Linked DNA regions of Homo sapiens: region 1 is linked to region 2. The links are contacts of gene promoters, found by promoter capture Hi-C in human tissues and cell types (Jung and others, 2019). All regions are on one chromosome and are shown on one strand. The core of a region is centred on a gene start or on the middle of the fragment in contact, and the rest is flanking DNA. Distances in the headings are between cores, read along the strand shown.

Region 1 (5,865 bases), core at 982-3,481, 47 kb after region 2:
CATCTGTCTCCTGCTGGGAGCCTGATCGTATACTTAAGAAACCAGCGTACAGTCACCTTCCCTATTTCTGCATCTAGACCCCAAAGAAATTTTAAACCAACACCTTCTTTTCAGAGTCTTTCCATAAGAGGGAGGACAAGAGACACTTTGATGTCCCACATCAAAACGAGAAGCTGACACAAGAAGTAGATGAACACACTTAACTGTCACGTCCTCACTTGAAATCCAGGTTTGTCAATGGGCAGCCCTCCAAAGAAAGCCGAGACTCAGGCCCATGCAGCAGCTCAGCACAGTCCCTGCGAGGACCCAGCAGAGGCCCCTCTGTTGAGGCCCCAGGAGAAGTGCACCCAGTGCCCCAGAAGCCACACTTACTTGCGCATCAGCTTCTTTACTTCCCGATCTTCTTCCTCCTGGAGCTTCTGAATGAAGCTTTTAAGTACCGGCATCTCGAACTTTATATACTGGGCCACCTAGAGAGAAAGAAGCAAGTCTGGGTGAATGCCCTTCCCAGCATTATTCCAATTCCTTTCAGGGTTGTCCTTATACAAGGCACAAAGCCTTGGGAAGTCTATTTTTTTCAGAAACCCAGGATTTCCTTAAAGGCAGCAGCCAAGCCTCATTCCTCACCAGGGTGGGAAGGAGTCTGCGATGATCGCTTCGCTTACGTGACACCATCTCATAACTTCTCATTTTTCATGTCATGCATTCAATTCATGATGAGGTGAAGCCAAACACAGAAAAGTACTTTCTTTTGACACAGTGATGCAGAGAAAGAACTGAACCCATTATGTTTAATAAACCCCTTTGTTCTCCCCTAAGAGAATGGAAGGAATCAGGGTTCCAGATGACGATTTGGGTCTCAAGGCTCAAACAAGCATCCAAATATGAACTCGCTTTGGAGAGGCTGTGGGTGGCTATGGGGTGAGTTAAAGTTTAAAAACGGTGCCAGGCATCGTGGTTCATGCCTGTAATCCCGGCACTTTGGGAGGCTGAGGCGGGCGGATCACTTGAGGTCAAGAGTTCAAGACCAGCTGGCCAACATGGTGAAACCCCGTCTCTACTAAAAATACAAAAATTAGCCAGGCATGGTGGTGCACACCTGTGGTCCCAGCTACGCAGGGGTCTGAGGCAGGAAAATAGCTTGAACCAGGGAGGTGCCACTGCACTCCAGCCTGGGCAACAGAGCGAGACTCCATCCCAAAAAAAAAAAAAAAGTTAAAAAATGGCTTCCCTTTCCCCACAAGAATCCCCACCCTGCTCTATCAACTCTTCTCCCTGGGATAAGTACATTTCTCTACCCTATTAATGCTGAGCTTGTCCATGTGACTGGCTTTGGCCAGTGGAATGTGTGTGGACATGACACACCAAATCTGAGTGGAGGCTTCAAATATGCTTACATGATTTGGCCTGGTTTCTCATGCTCCGCCATCTGCCATGAGGACCACACCCATGTGCAGTAACTACTGCCCCAAAAGCCTGGGCCTCTGGGTGAGTCACACAGTGCAGACTTGAACTCAACCCATACTTAGAGTAGAGCCATTGCTACTAGACCACAGAATCATGGGCAAAAAAGCAAATGTTTGCTGTTGTCAGCTACTATGATTTGGAGATGTTTGTTACTCTGCAAAAGCTGGCTTCGAGAGAACCTGGTGCTGAAGAAGTAAAAGGGGGCATGGTCGTTGGTCAAAAAAGTCATTCTATACCCCAGTTACAGGTGGTCCAACCAAATCCCCACCCTCCTGAGGACAGATCGCCTGACCCAAAGGGAACTCACGTCGTAGGTGACTTCCTCCACCTGGTCCTTCTCCATTAGGAACACTTTGGAGATCTGCTCACATGGGCCCTGGAGGATTCGGGCAATCAGCGGGTAATCGGTGGCCTTCAGCTTCTGTTTCTCTGCAACCACACACACCCAGGAGCAGCCCTGAGAGGCCTTTCTCACATTAAGTAGTGGTTAATGCAGGGGTCCAAAGGCACCTTAGGAGATGCCGCCATATACGTCAGGAGACTGATTTATAAGTGAACTATTCCATAGGTGTTGTGAAAAGCAACTTCCTCCCACTCCTCACCCCTCAACAATACCACCATGCCTCAAACTCCTTGGAGGAATTGGGTTTATCTGTCTCTTAAGAAAATCTAGTTCCTCTTTTAATAGGCAGTTAGGTTTAGAATTTGTTTACTGGCCATATAAGGCAATCCCTAGTAGACTCATACAGCAAGCCCATCAGCCTTGAAGGCAAACAACATTTGGAAGTTTCCAAAACTCAAACAACAAGCAAAGGAGGCAGAGGTATTTTTTTAACTTGCTATTTTGAGTTAATTAGAAGTTTTAAAGTACACTGTGGTCTTCAGACTTACCACCACTCGTATGGACCACGTACAAGGCAAACTCCTCTGCTGAATTCTCAATCTGAAGCAGGAGCAAAAGATTCTTGTTGAAAGTTTCTATTTAAACATCCCAACTTCGAGGCTTTTCCTCTTCTTTAGCAATGCAAAGCTAAGTCAATTTTAGGCTGTTTTGAGGGGAGAGCTATTTATCTACAACTCTCAGAAGTGATGAGAAGATCGAGAAGGCAGATGACTTTATCAATAATACAGTCATGCACTTAACCACGAGGATGCATTCTGAGAAATGTGTCACTAGGCAATTTCATTGTTGTGCAAACATCATAGAGTGTGCTTACAGAAACCTGGATGGCATAGCCTACTTCACACCTAGGCCATATGGTATATAGCCTATTGCTCCTAGTGTACAAACCTATACAGCATGTTACTGTACTCAATGCCGTAAGCACTTGTAACACAATGGTAAGCATTTGTGTATCTAAACATATCTAAACACAGAAAAGGTACCATAAAAAATGGATTATAATCTTACGGGACCACTGTCGTATATGTGGTGCATCATTGACCAAATTGGTCATTCTGTAGCACACGACTAGGATAGATAACAGCTATCGTCTATTGCAATGTGCCAGGCATAGTTCTACAAATGTTAAAGGCTTCAACCCATCTAATGCTCACGACGATACCATAGTGAAGTCCCATTATCCTCATTTTATGATGACGAAGCAGAGGCAGGGGCAGGTTAAGTAACCTGCCCAATTCATCCAACTAGCAGGTGCTCAGTGGAGATTTGAACCCAGAGCCTGTGTTCTTAGGTTGTTAGGCTACACTGGCTTCCATTAAAAATAAGAACACCTGGTCTCCAAAAGATCTCTGGTCTCCAAGAGATTGTGGAAAACACAGAGCAACAGAACTTTAAAAGCACTCCTGCACTATAATTTGCACGTCTATTTAAGTATCATATTTCAAAGTAGGTTTCCCAACTGTGTCCCAGAAGTCAATCTTCGCACTGAGCCCAAAACCAGTCAGCAGGCCCCAGGGTCCTTCTAAAGTAGCCCATAAAGGATTTGAGGGCTGATGTTTCTCAAACTTCGGTAGGCATCCAAATCCCCTGCAGGCTTGTTAGACGGCGTCCCTGGCCTACCCCTCACAATTTCTGATTTAGTGGGTCTGGGGTGGGGCCTGAGAATCTGAATTTCTAACAAGCACCCAGGTGATGCTGATGCTGATTCTGTGGACTTTGTCCTGGATCGTGAGGATCTAAAGAACCGAAGCCCTCTGCTCAGCATCCCACAAAACACACAATTTCCATAGCTCCTCGCACAACCACTCTAGGAGTCCCAAGGCACAGCTGTGACCCCATCTGTGGCCACTCAGCAAAGGGAACTTGCCTTAAATTTGTTGAGCAGCAGCTTCAGGACCTGTGGGGTGGTCATGGTGCTGTTGATGCGGACGTTGGTGACAGAGCCATAGGCTGGTGTGAACACGGATGTCTGTCAATAGAAGGGCCCAGCTCAGGGTGGGAGTGGGAACAAGGACCCAGTGCTAAAATCCAGGTGCGGTACAGGGCACAGTGACAACGATACTCAGAATGTACTCCCTGGGAGCCCCCGGCAGACTGGCAAGCAGCAGGCTTTGTAGACAAAGCAACCCTCGGGGTTTGCATAATTCAGTTCATGCTCCACGCTCAAAAAGACCCTTCCTCTGGGACTTCAGCACAAGGCTGTCTCTGACCACTCTCCCACCATGTATTGCCTCCGGGGGTAGGATTTGAACAAAGCAGGAGGAAAGGAGGGATCAGCAAGATGGGGTGGGGTGGGTGGTGCACTGACACCCCAGGTCTGAGACCTGCAGCTCTGCTTCAGCTCTGGGAAAAGCCAGACCATACACCAGCTGGGGGCACAGTGTGCAGGAAGAGGGTAACACGTGGATTTTCTTGGGAGAGACTGATGAGCTGCGTTTATGGGGTCTTCAAGGCTACAGCAGGGACTGCTTTGTACAGCCCCACTGAATTCACCCACCACCTTAAGGGGAACCCACAGGGGGACTTTGAGGCTTCTGACCTGGGGTCCCTCAGCCCTCAGGAAGCCAGCAGGGCTTGCAGCCCACCCACAACCCAAAGACTAAACAGCAGCAAACACTTGGCTTCCCAGGCATCCACACCACCCACCATATGGCTGTAGCCCTGAGGTGGCATCTACCCAGGAAGAGGTCTTCCACCCTCCCCGTCCCCCTGTCCACCTTACCTTATGGTTGTAGAAATGGCCGTTGATGGAGAAGCGGTGGCGTCTGATTCGCCGCTGGTCACTAGGCGTCCTCACATTGCCACGGCGACGCACCCCAACATCACTGCGTGTGCGCATCAGCTGTGGGGTGTCCTCCTGCAGGGGCTTCAGGCCCCTGGAGTCTGAGAGAGGAGAGGGAAATGAACTCTGTCTGTCTGGACCTGGGACATGGCACATGGTCCCCAATTTGTGGCCAGTGCGACAGCACCCACTGTCTCCACAAATATATATTTTATACAAATAATATTTTCTGCTGGGGGAAAAACATAATGCAGAATTTACAGAGAACCTATACAAGGAAAAGTTCAGAGAACAGACTTCAGAGCCGGACTCCCTGGGTTCAAATCCCTGCTCCATGATTGCCATATATCACTAACCTCTCTGTGCCTCGGTGCTTTTATATATAAAATAGGGATAATAATAACACCCACCTCAGAGGGTTGCTGAGGGTTTAAATGAGTTAGTATACATAAAGCACTTAGAATAGTGCCTGGCACAGGATAAGCATGATATAAGAGCTAACAAGATACTGCAAACAAACTCTGACACATGCTACCCACGGATGAACCTTGATGACATTATGCTAAGTGCAACAAGCCAATTACAAAACAGCAAATACTGAATGATTCCACTTATATGAGATACTTAGAGTGTACCTCATATAAGTGTACCACATATAATTGAGGTACACTGTAAGTACATTCTAGGTACATACAAAATTACAGAGACAGAGAGTAGAATGGTGGTTGCCAGGAGCTAAAGAGAGAAGGATGTGGGGAGCTATTGGGAGTTTAATGGGTACAGAGTTTCAGTTTCACAAGATGGAAAGAGTTCTGGAGATGGATGGTGGTGATGGTTGCGCAACATTATGAGTGCTTTTAATACCACTGAACTGTACCACTTAACATGGTTAAGATGGTAAACGTTATGTTATGTATATCTTACCACAATAAAAAATTAGAAAAAATAATGTTTAACAGAACATGTATCTAAAAATATGTGGGGTTCCCATGGCATATGTCTATCCTTGTATGTGTATAAATATACAATACTGACATTAATCACAAGTAGGTTAATCTGCTCTTATTAAAATATATTTAATCCACGTAATATAAAAAAGATTTTGCAAACTGACAATATCTATGAAAATTAAAAATGCATATGGCCTTAAACCCAGAAAGTCCACTTGAAAGAATCCTACACGCTGACAAATGTGTGACGTGACACATGTATA
Region 2 (5,956 bases), core at 1,033-3,532:
ATGCCAGAGTAGAACATATTCCTCAGGGTTATGCTGCCTGCAGGGCGAGGGAGCTGGGGAATTTATACACCAAGATCTGTCCATCATTGGTTAAGGACAGCTCCCAAAGGCTATACTTCCCTAATAGTTCCAACCTGCTGAGTGCATAGGCTGAGTGGGCTTCCGAGCATGCTGGTCCCATCTCCTAATGATGAGAGGTGGAGGCACAGGAGAAGGTAAACAAATGGCAAAGACACTTAAATACATGAGAAAATGAGTCCAACCTGAACTTTGACTTTTCTGGGTGGCCCACTCATCCCACTAACTACCATAACTTCATTTCGTCTGCTTTTTGCAAAGAACAGACAATTCCAAACAGCCAAGCCTAACAAGTAGCTCATCTTAGCTTGTGGATTCAGAGCACTGGTGGCCTCTCCACCTCCAATTGACACCAGAAAACATATAAATACCTCTAAACATGCCTTGGGTATTTGTTTTTCTAATTGCAAATATTATACCATAACTTAGTTTGAAGGCTTTGTAAAGAATATGCCAGAAACATCTAATATTAGCCCTAAAAACTAGGGCAATCTTTTTTTTAACAGAAGAGTGTTCATATAAACATCAAAAGATGTGATGAGAGTAGTTTCAACTTCTAATCATAGAAATTATAGGGCTATTTCATGAAAGAGGTGCTTTATCAGCTCATCTTGAGTGAATGTTAAAGATGAAGATATGGCTAGTATCTCCAGAGTCTACTGTCTCAGAGAGGTAGCCCAAAGTTGTAAGACTGAGTGCCTTGAGGTAGGGAACAGGAAGCAACAGGGTCTCCAGGTTCACTGAGGAGTACTGACCTGCAATGCGATTCCTACATCAGCAAAGGTCTTCCTTCCATCGTTAGAGGACTCCTGGATTTGCTATGCCTATCCTGATGGCTTCCTACATGAGACCATCCATTCACACTTGGCCCTTACCCAGGCCTGAAATTCTCCCCAGTTGCACTCCACCCACTTATGTCTATCACTTAGCTCAAAGCCAGTAAAGCTCATCTCTGAACTAGCAAAGATTCCCTTTATCCCATCAAAATGTCCTTAACATCTATCTTGAGGTCATGCAGCATGATCTTACTTTGCTGGCATTCTTTCCTTCTTCTGTGGATTCCCAAGCAGAGTACAGATGTACAGATTCCTTGGGGGATAAGAGCTGGAATTTCAGCTTCTTTTTTTTTTTTTTTTTTTTGAGACGGAGTCTCGTCTGTTGCCAGGCTGGAGTGCGGTGGTGCAATCTCTGCTCACTGCAACCTCCGACTCCCTGGTTCAAGCTATTCTCCTGCCTCAGCCTCCCAGGCAGCTGAATTACAGGCACACACCACCACGCCCAGCTAATTTTTGTATTTTTAGTAGAGACAGGGTTTCACCATGTTGGCCAGGACGGTCTCGATCTCCTGACCTCATGATTTACCTGCCTTGGCCTCCCAAAGTGCTGGGATTACAGGCATGAGCCACCGCACCCGGCCTCACCTTCTTTTATATCCCACACAGCACCCAGCACAGAGCACAAAGCTAAGCGCATCGATCCAGCGACTGACTGACTGAATAAATGAATACATGCTATCTTGCTTGTAGAAGCCCAGATTCCTCCTTCTTACGACTCCCACACCCACTTAGGAGATTCTATTATGTCTTAAAAGAAGTTACATCTCCATTAGTGTCAAAGCAACATTATATAAGTGGCTCAACATGATCAGGCATGAATTTCTTTGTTTTCCCACTCACCTGAAAGCCCAAAAACAATCCAGGTGGTGGTAAACACTTCTGATCCTTCAAAGAAAACGGAAGAAAGCGATCCCTACCGTCTATTTTGAATCTACCGTTTTTTGTTTTTGAGTGTCTTTTAAATCTATTCAAAATCCTTTAAGGGCATTTCACCATGCATGGGAGAAGGTCATGGATCCTCAACAAATTGCAAGAGGCCTTTCACAGGCTAGACTCTGCCTTGTTCTCCAAGCTCACCTTCCATAATCCTGATGTGCTCCATATTGCCAGACTCTTTCAAGTCCTTCCCCGCCCTGCGGAGAATCCCTACTCACACCTCAGGACCAGCTCAGACATGGTCTCCAGGAGACCTTTTCTAAGATCCTATGTGAGGTAACTAGCCCCCTTGGCACCTTGTGACATAATTATTCACTTCCATGTACATGTCCCGTAGTGAACTATGAGCACCTCCAGACCTTACCCTGCGTTTGGTCGCCTTGCTCTCCTCTCTGCAGCTGGCACCCAATCTTTCCAGGCTGTCTCTAGGGACTCGAGCCCTTGGGATGGGGTCCTCAATGCTTTTCCACCTGCCTGGCTTCTAAATTCCACTAAGATCCTGTCCCATTCTCTTGGAAACACTAGAACTTACTCTGACATGCCCTATGGAAGTTATTTCTCCACTGCTGTTCAAACCCACTCCCAGACCTGGCCTTCCCTGAGGAGAGCGTCTCAGCCAAATCCAACTGCCTCTAGCTCAAGTTTCCTTGCGGGGGGCCCGCTGGCCTCATCCTGTTAGGTCGTCTTAGAGCCACAGGAGAATCAATGTTCCAGTGTCAGCAGGAAGAATCAATGTTCCAGTGTCAGCCAGCAGGGGGCAGTGTGAAAATACACACACCAGGCCCTTTTTTCAAAGGGTCTCGGCTTCCCTGAGGGTGTCTATCTGTGCCTCTATGAAGCATGGCTTGGGTCATTCCTCCAGTCCCATGGCCAGGTGGATCCTTCGTTTACCTTTCATTTCTATTAAATGAGAACATTCTCAATTCACTAACTGGATTGTTGGAAAGGCAGCAAGCTCTGCTAGATAGTTCTAAATATTTGCATCAAATATGGACCAGAAATTGTGAATCTGTCTTTCAACGCCCTCGGATCTGAGTCAGCAAGGCTGCCACGTGCAAAAGTAGGAACGTTAAATACTTGAAGCTGGGAGAGAATAAGTGGGTTTCTAATCCTCTCTGGTGCATTCAGTTCTAGAAAGTGGTTCTTTGTATTCTACTGGAACATTTCTATGTATGGTTTTTTTGTTGTTTGTTTGTTTGTTTTTTGAGACAGAGTCTCCCTCTGTTGCTCAGGCTGGAGCACAGTGGCACAATTTCAGCTCACCACAACCTCTGTCTCCCGGGTTCAAGGAATTCTCCTGCCTGAGCCTCCCGAGTAGCTGAGATTACAGGCACGTGCCACCACGCCCAGCTAATTTTTGTATTTTTGGTAGAGGCAGGGTTTCACTATGTTGGCCAGGCTGGTGTATGTATGTTTTAAACATGCTTTAAAACAAAATTTCTTTTTAGAGATGGGATCTTGCTATGTTGCCCAGGCTGGAGTGCAGTGGCTATTCACAGGTGTGATCATGGCGCACTGAAGCCTAGAACTACTAGGCTCAAGCAATCCTCCCACCCTAGCCTCCCACGTAATTGAGACTACAGGTATACACCACCATGCCCGGCCTTAAACATGCTTTTAAATGTGTCATAAATCACATTTCTCTGATGAATAAAAAGAATTATCTAATGTTGAGAAAGAGTCAGTGTTTAATCATTTACCTCACAGTGCAGATTTCTTAATAAATTCTGTTATTGAATCTACAGAATTTAACATTATGTTATTTTTGGCCCTGAAGGCATAACTTCAAGCCATTCTGGATACTGAATGTGTTGCTGACATACACATTAGCAAATCACTCAGAAGCATATACACTTTATTGCATTATCAGTAACATGAAGAAATATTTCTATATCATGAGAAAGAGCACTTTCTTCTTGATATGTGTGTAATCCCTTGGTCTTGGGAAGCTAAGGCACAGCTTACAGAGGGATTTTGTATACCCCACTCATTACGTAGCTTAAATCAGGCTGGGTAAACATGTAAACCAAATGCAAATCATCAATCTACATATGTTTAAGAAATAATATAGACATACTGCTGAAGCATGCCTCCCAGGGAGTTCTGGACTTTAAACAGCATCTTATAAATCACCAGCAAGAACAATCAATTAATATTTTGGCTGAGGGTCTTTACCAGACTCCCAAATACCACTGGAGTTAAGCACTGAACCAACACAGGCCAGCTGCAAATAAGATTCATTGCTATGGTTTGGATATTTGGCCTCCCCTCCAAAGACAATATCATGTTGAAATTTCATCCCCAATGTCAGAGGTAGGGCCCACTGGGAGGTTTGGGTCATGGGAGTATATCTCTCATGAATGGCTTGCTGCCATCCTCATGGGAGTGAGTTCTCACTCTTAGTTCCCTCAAGAGCTAGTTGTTGAAGAGTGTAGAACCTCCTCCTCCCTCCTCTTGCCTCCTCTCTCCCCATGTGATCTGCCCACAGTGGTTCACCTTTCCCTTCCACCATGAGTAGAAGCAGCCGGAGGCCCTCATCAGAAGCAGGTATTGGTCCTATGCTTTTTGTACAGTCTGCAGAACCATGAACCAAGTAAACCTATTTTCTTTATACATTACCAAGCCTTAAGTATTCTTTTATAACAACACAAGCAGGCTAAGATAACCCCATCTATGGTCAGTCACCAAGGCCTCTTCTCTCATATGAGTTTTGTACCTTACTCTATTTAATAAAGTTTGTTCTCATGGGGATATGCATTAACAATTCTGATACGTGCATACTGAAATCGAAAATTAATTAAACAAATGGCGGATGGTAGAAGCCAGGTTGCTCACTGTTGGAATGCAAGTTTACAGATAAGCCAGGGGAGGAGGCTAGAATGATCCACTTGGTAACAGAGCGGAGTTGGAGGCATCAGTATGAACTCATGTCTAGCTTAATACAGGGGCAGAAGATTCCATATAGAAATATGTATAGATATGTGATATTCACAGGTTAGTATACACATGAATATTTCCTTGCTCTGTCATCTGAGAAGGACTAAAAGAAACAGCACCCCAGTAGCAAAAAGCATACCTAGCACCCAGACCTTGGTTTCTAATAACACTCTCCAGTGAAAGGTACCAGGGCTCCTTGGAGAAATGGCCAATTCTATGCCTCTGACAGAAATATGCAAGAGGAGCCTGGAGTATTTTGTAGTGCCAGAAAATAAGGAGGCACTCAAAAACAATCAAAAAACAAATGCATATTAATGGAGCTACATCAAAGAAACACAGGAGCCAACTGAGAGTGCTCCCAACGGCCAAAGCTGGAACAATTTGAGCAACAAAATAAAGCAGTGCTGGATTATCATTCAAAGTATAAAATAAATACCCCTGAGTCCTCACTATTGCAAATAAATGATTGAATAAATTAATAAATGGGGGAGGAGAGACAAGTCCCTTGGACTGATAAATTTCAAATAATTTATGCAGATACTCTGCCTCAAGGGGGTGAGGCATAACTCCTGACTCATTAAATGTGGAGTAAGCATAGTGACTTCCTTCCTAAGAGGACAGTATGGAATGGGGGAGAAGAGTAACCTTAGAGTGGAGGACCCTGACACATACGACCTCAGCCAGGTGATGAAGGTCAACATCAGTGGTGATCAATCATGTTGATCATATGTACTTCTGATGTGATGTGAGGAAAGCAGCACTTTACTTCTGTGGACTTCCTCTCAAAAACTCATAACCCCAGTCAAGTCAAGAGAAAAACATTAGACAAATTTAATAAATAGGCATTTGGGAAAATATCTGAGCGGTACTTCTCAAAACTATCAAGGTCACCAAAAACAAGGAAAGTCTAAGAAACTGTCACAGCTAGAGGAGCCCAAGGAGACACGATGATCATGTATCAGTGCTGGTTCATTCCTTCTAACAAATGTGCCCTACTCGTGCAAGATGTTAACAAAGGGAACATTGGCCATGGGTATATGGGAACACCCTGTACTATCTTCTCAATTTTTCTGTAAGTTTGAAACAGTTCTAAACAAAAAAAAGTCTTTTAAAAATACAATCAAGGCCAGGTGCAGTGACTCAGGCCTGTAATCCCAACACTGTGGGAG

The links. Contacts are between HindIII fragments. The study calls those that stand out against the background at their distance.
Region 1: a fragment that was not itself captured here is called in contact with the fragment with the promoter of PRNT in region 2 in 1 of the 25 tissues and cell types used here (IMR-90 fibroblasts).

What each region holds. Positions count from the first base shown.
Region 1 is chr20:4,785,859-4,791,723 of GRCh38, forward strand. RASSF2 (Ras association domain family member 2) reads right to left here. Exons shown (of 12, transcript NM_014737.3): 7 at 4,593-4,753; 8 at 3,738-3,839; 9 at 2,359-2,410; 10 at 1,775-1,896; 11 at 373-470. Among named protein-coding and RNA genes, the nearest start is that of RASSF2, 35 kb to the right of the region's middle. The HindIII fragment of the contact is 6,947 bases long and covers 1-5,705 here.
Region 2 is chr20:4,738,386-4,744,341 of GRCh38, forward strand. It overlaps PRNT (prion locus lncRNA, testis expressed), which reads right to left and starts at 2,283. Exons shown (of 2, transcript NR_024269.1): 1 at 2,215-2,283. The HindIII fragment of the contact is 12,758 bases long and covers 1-5,956 here.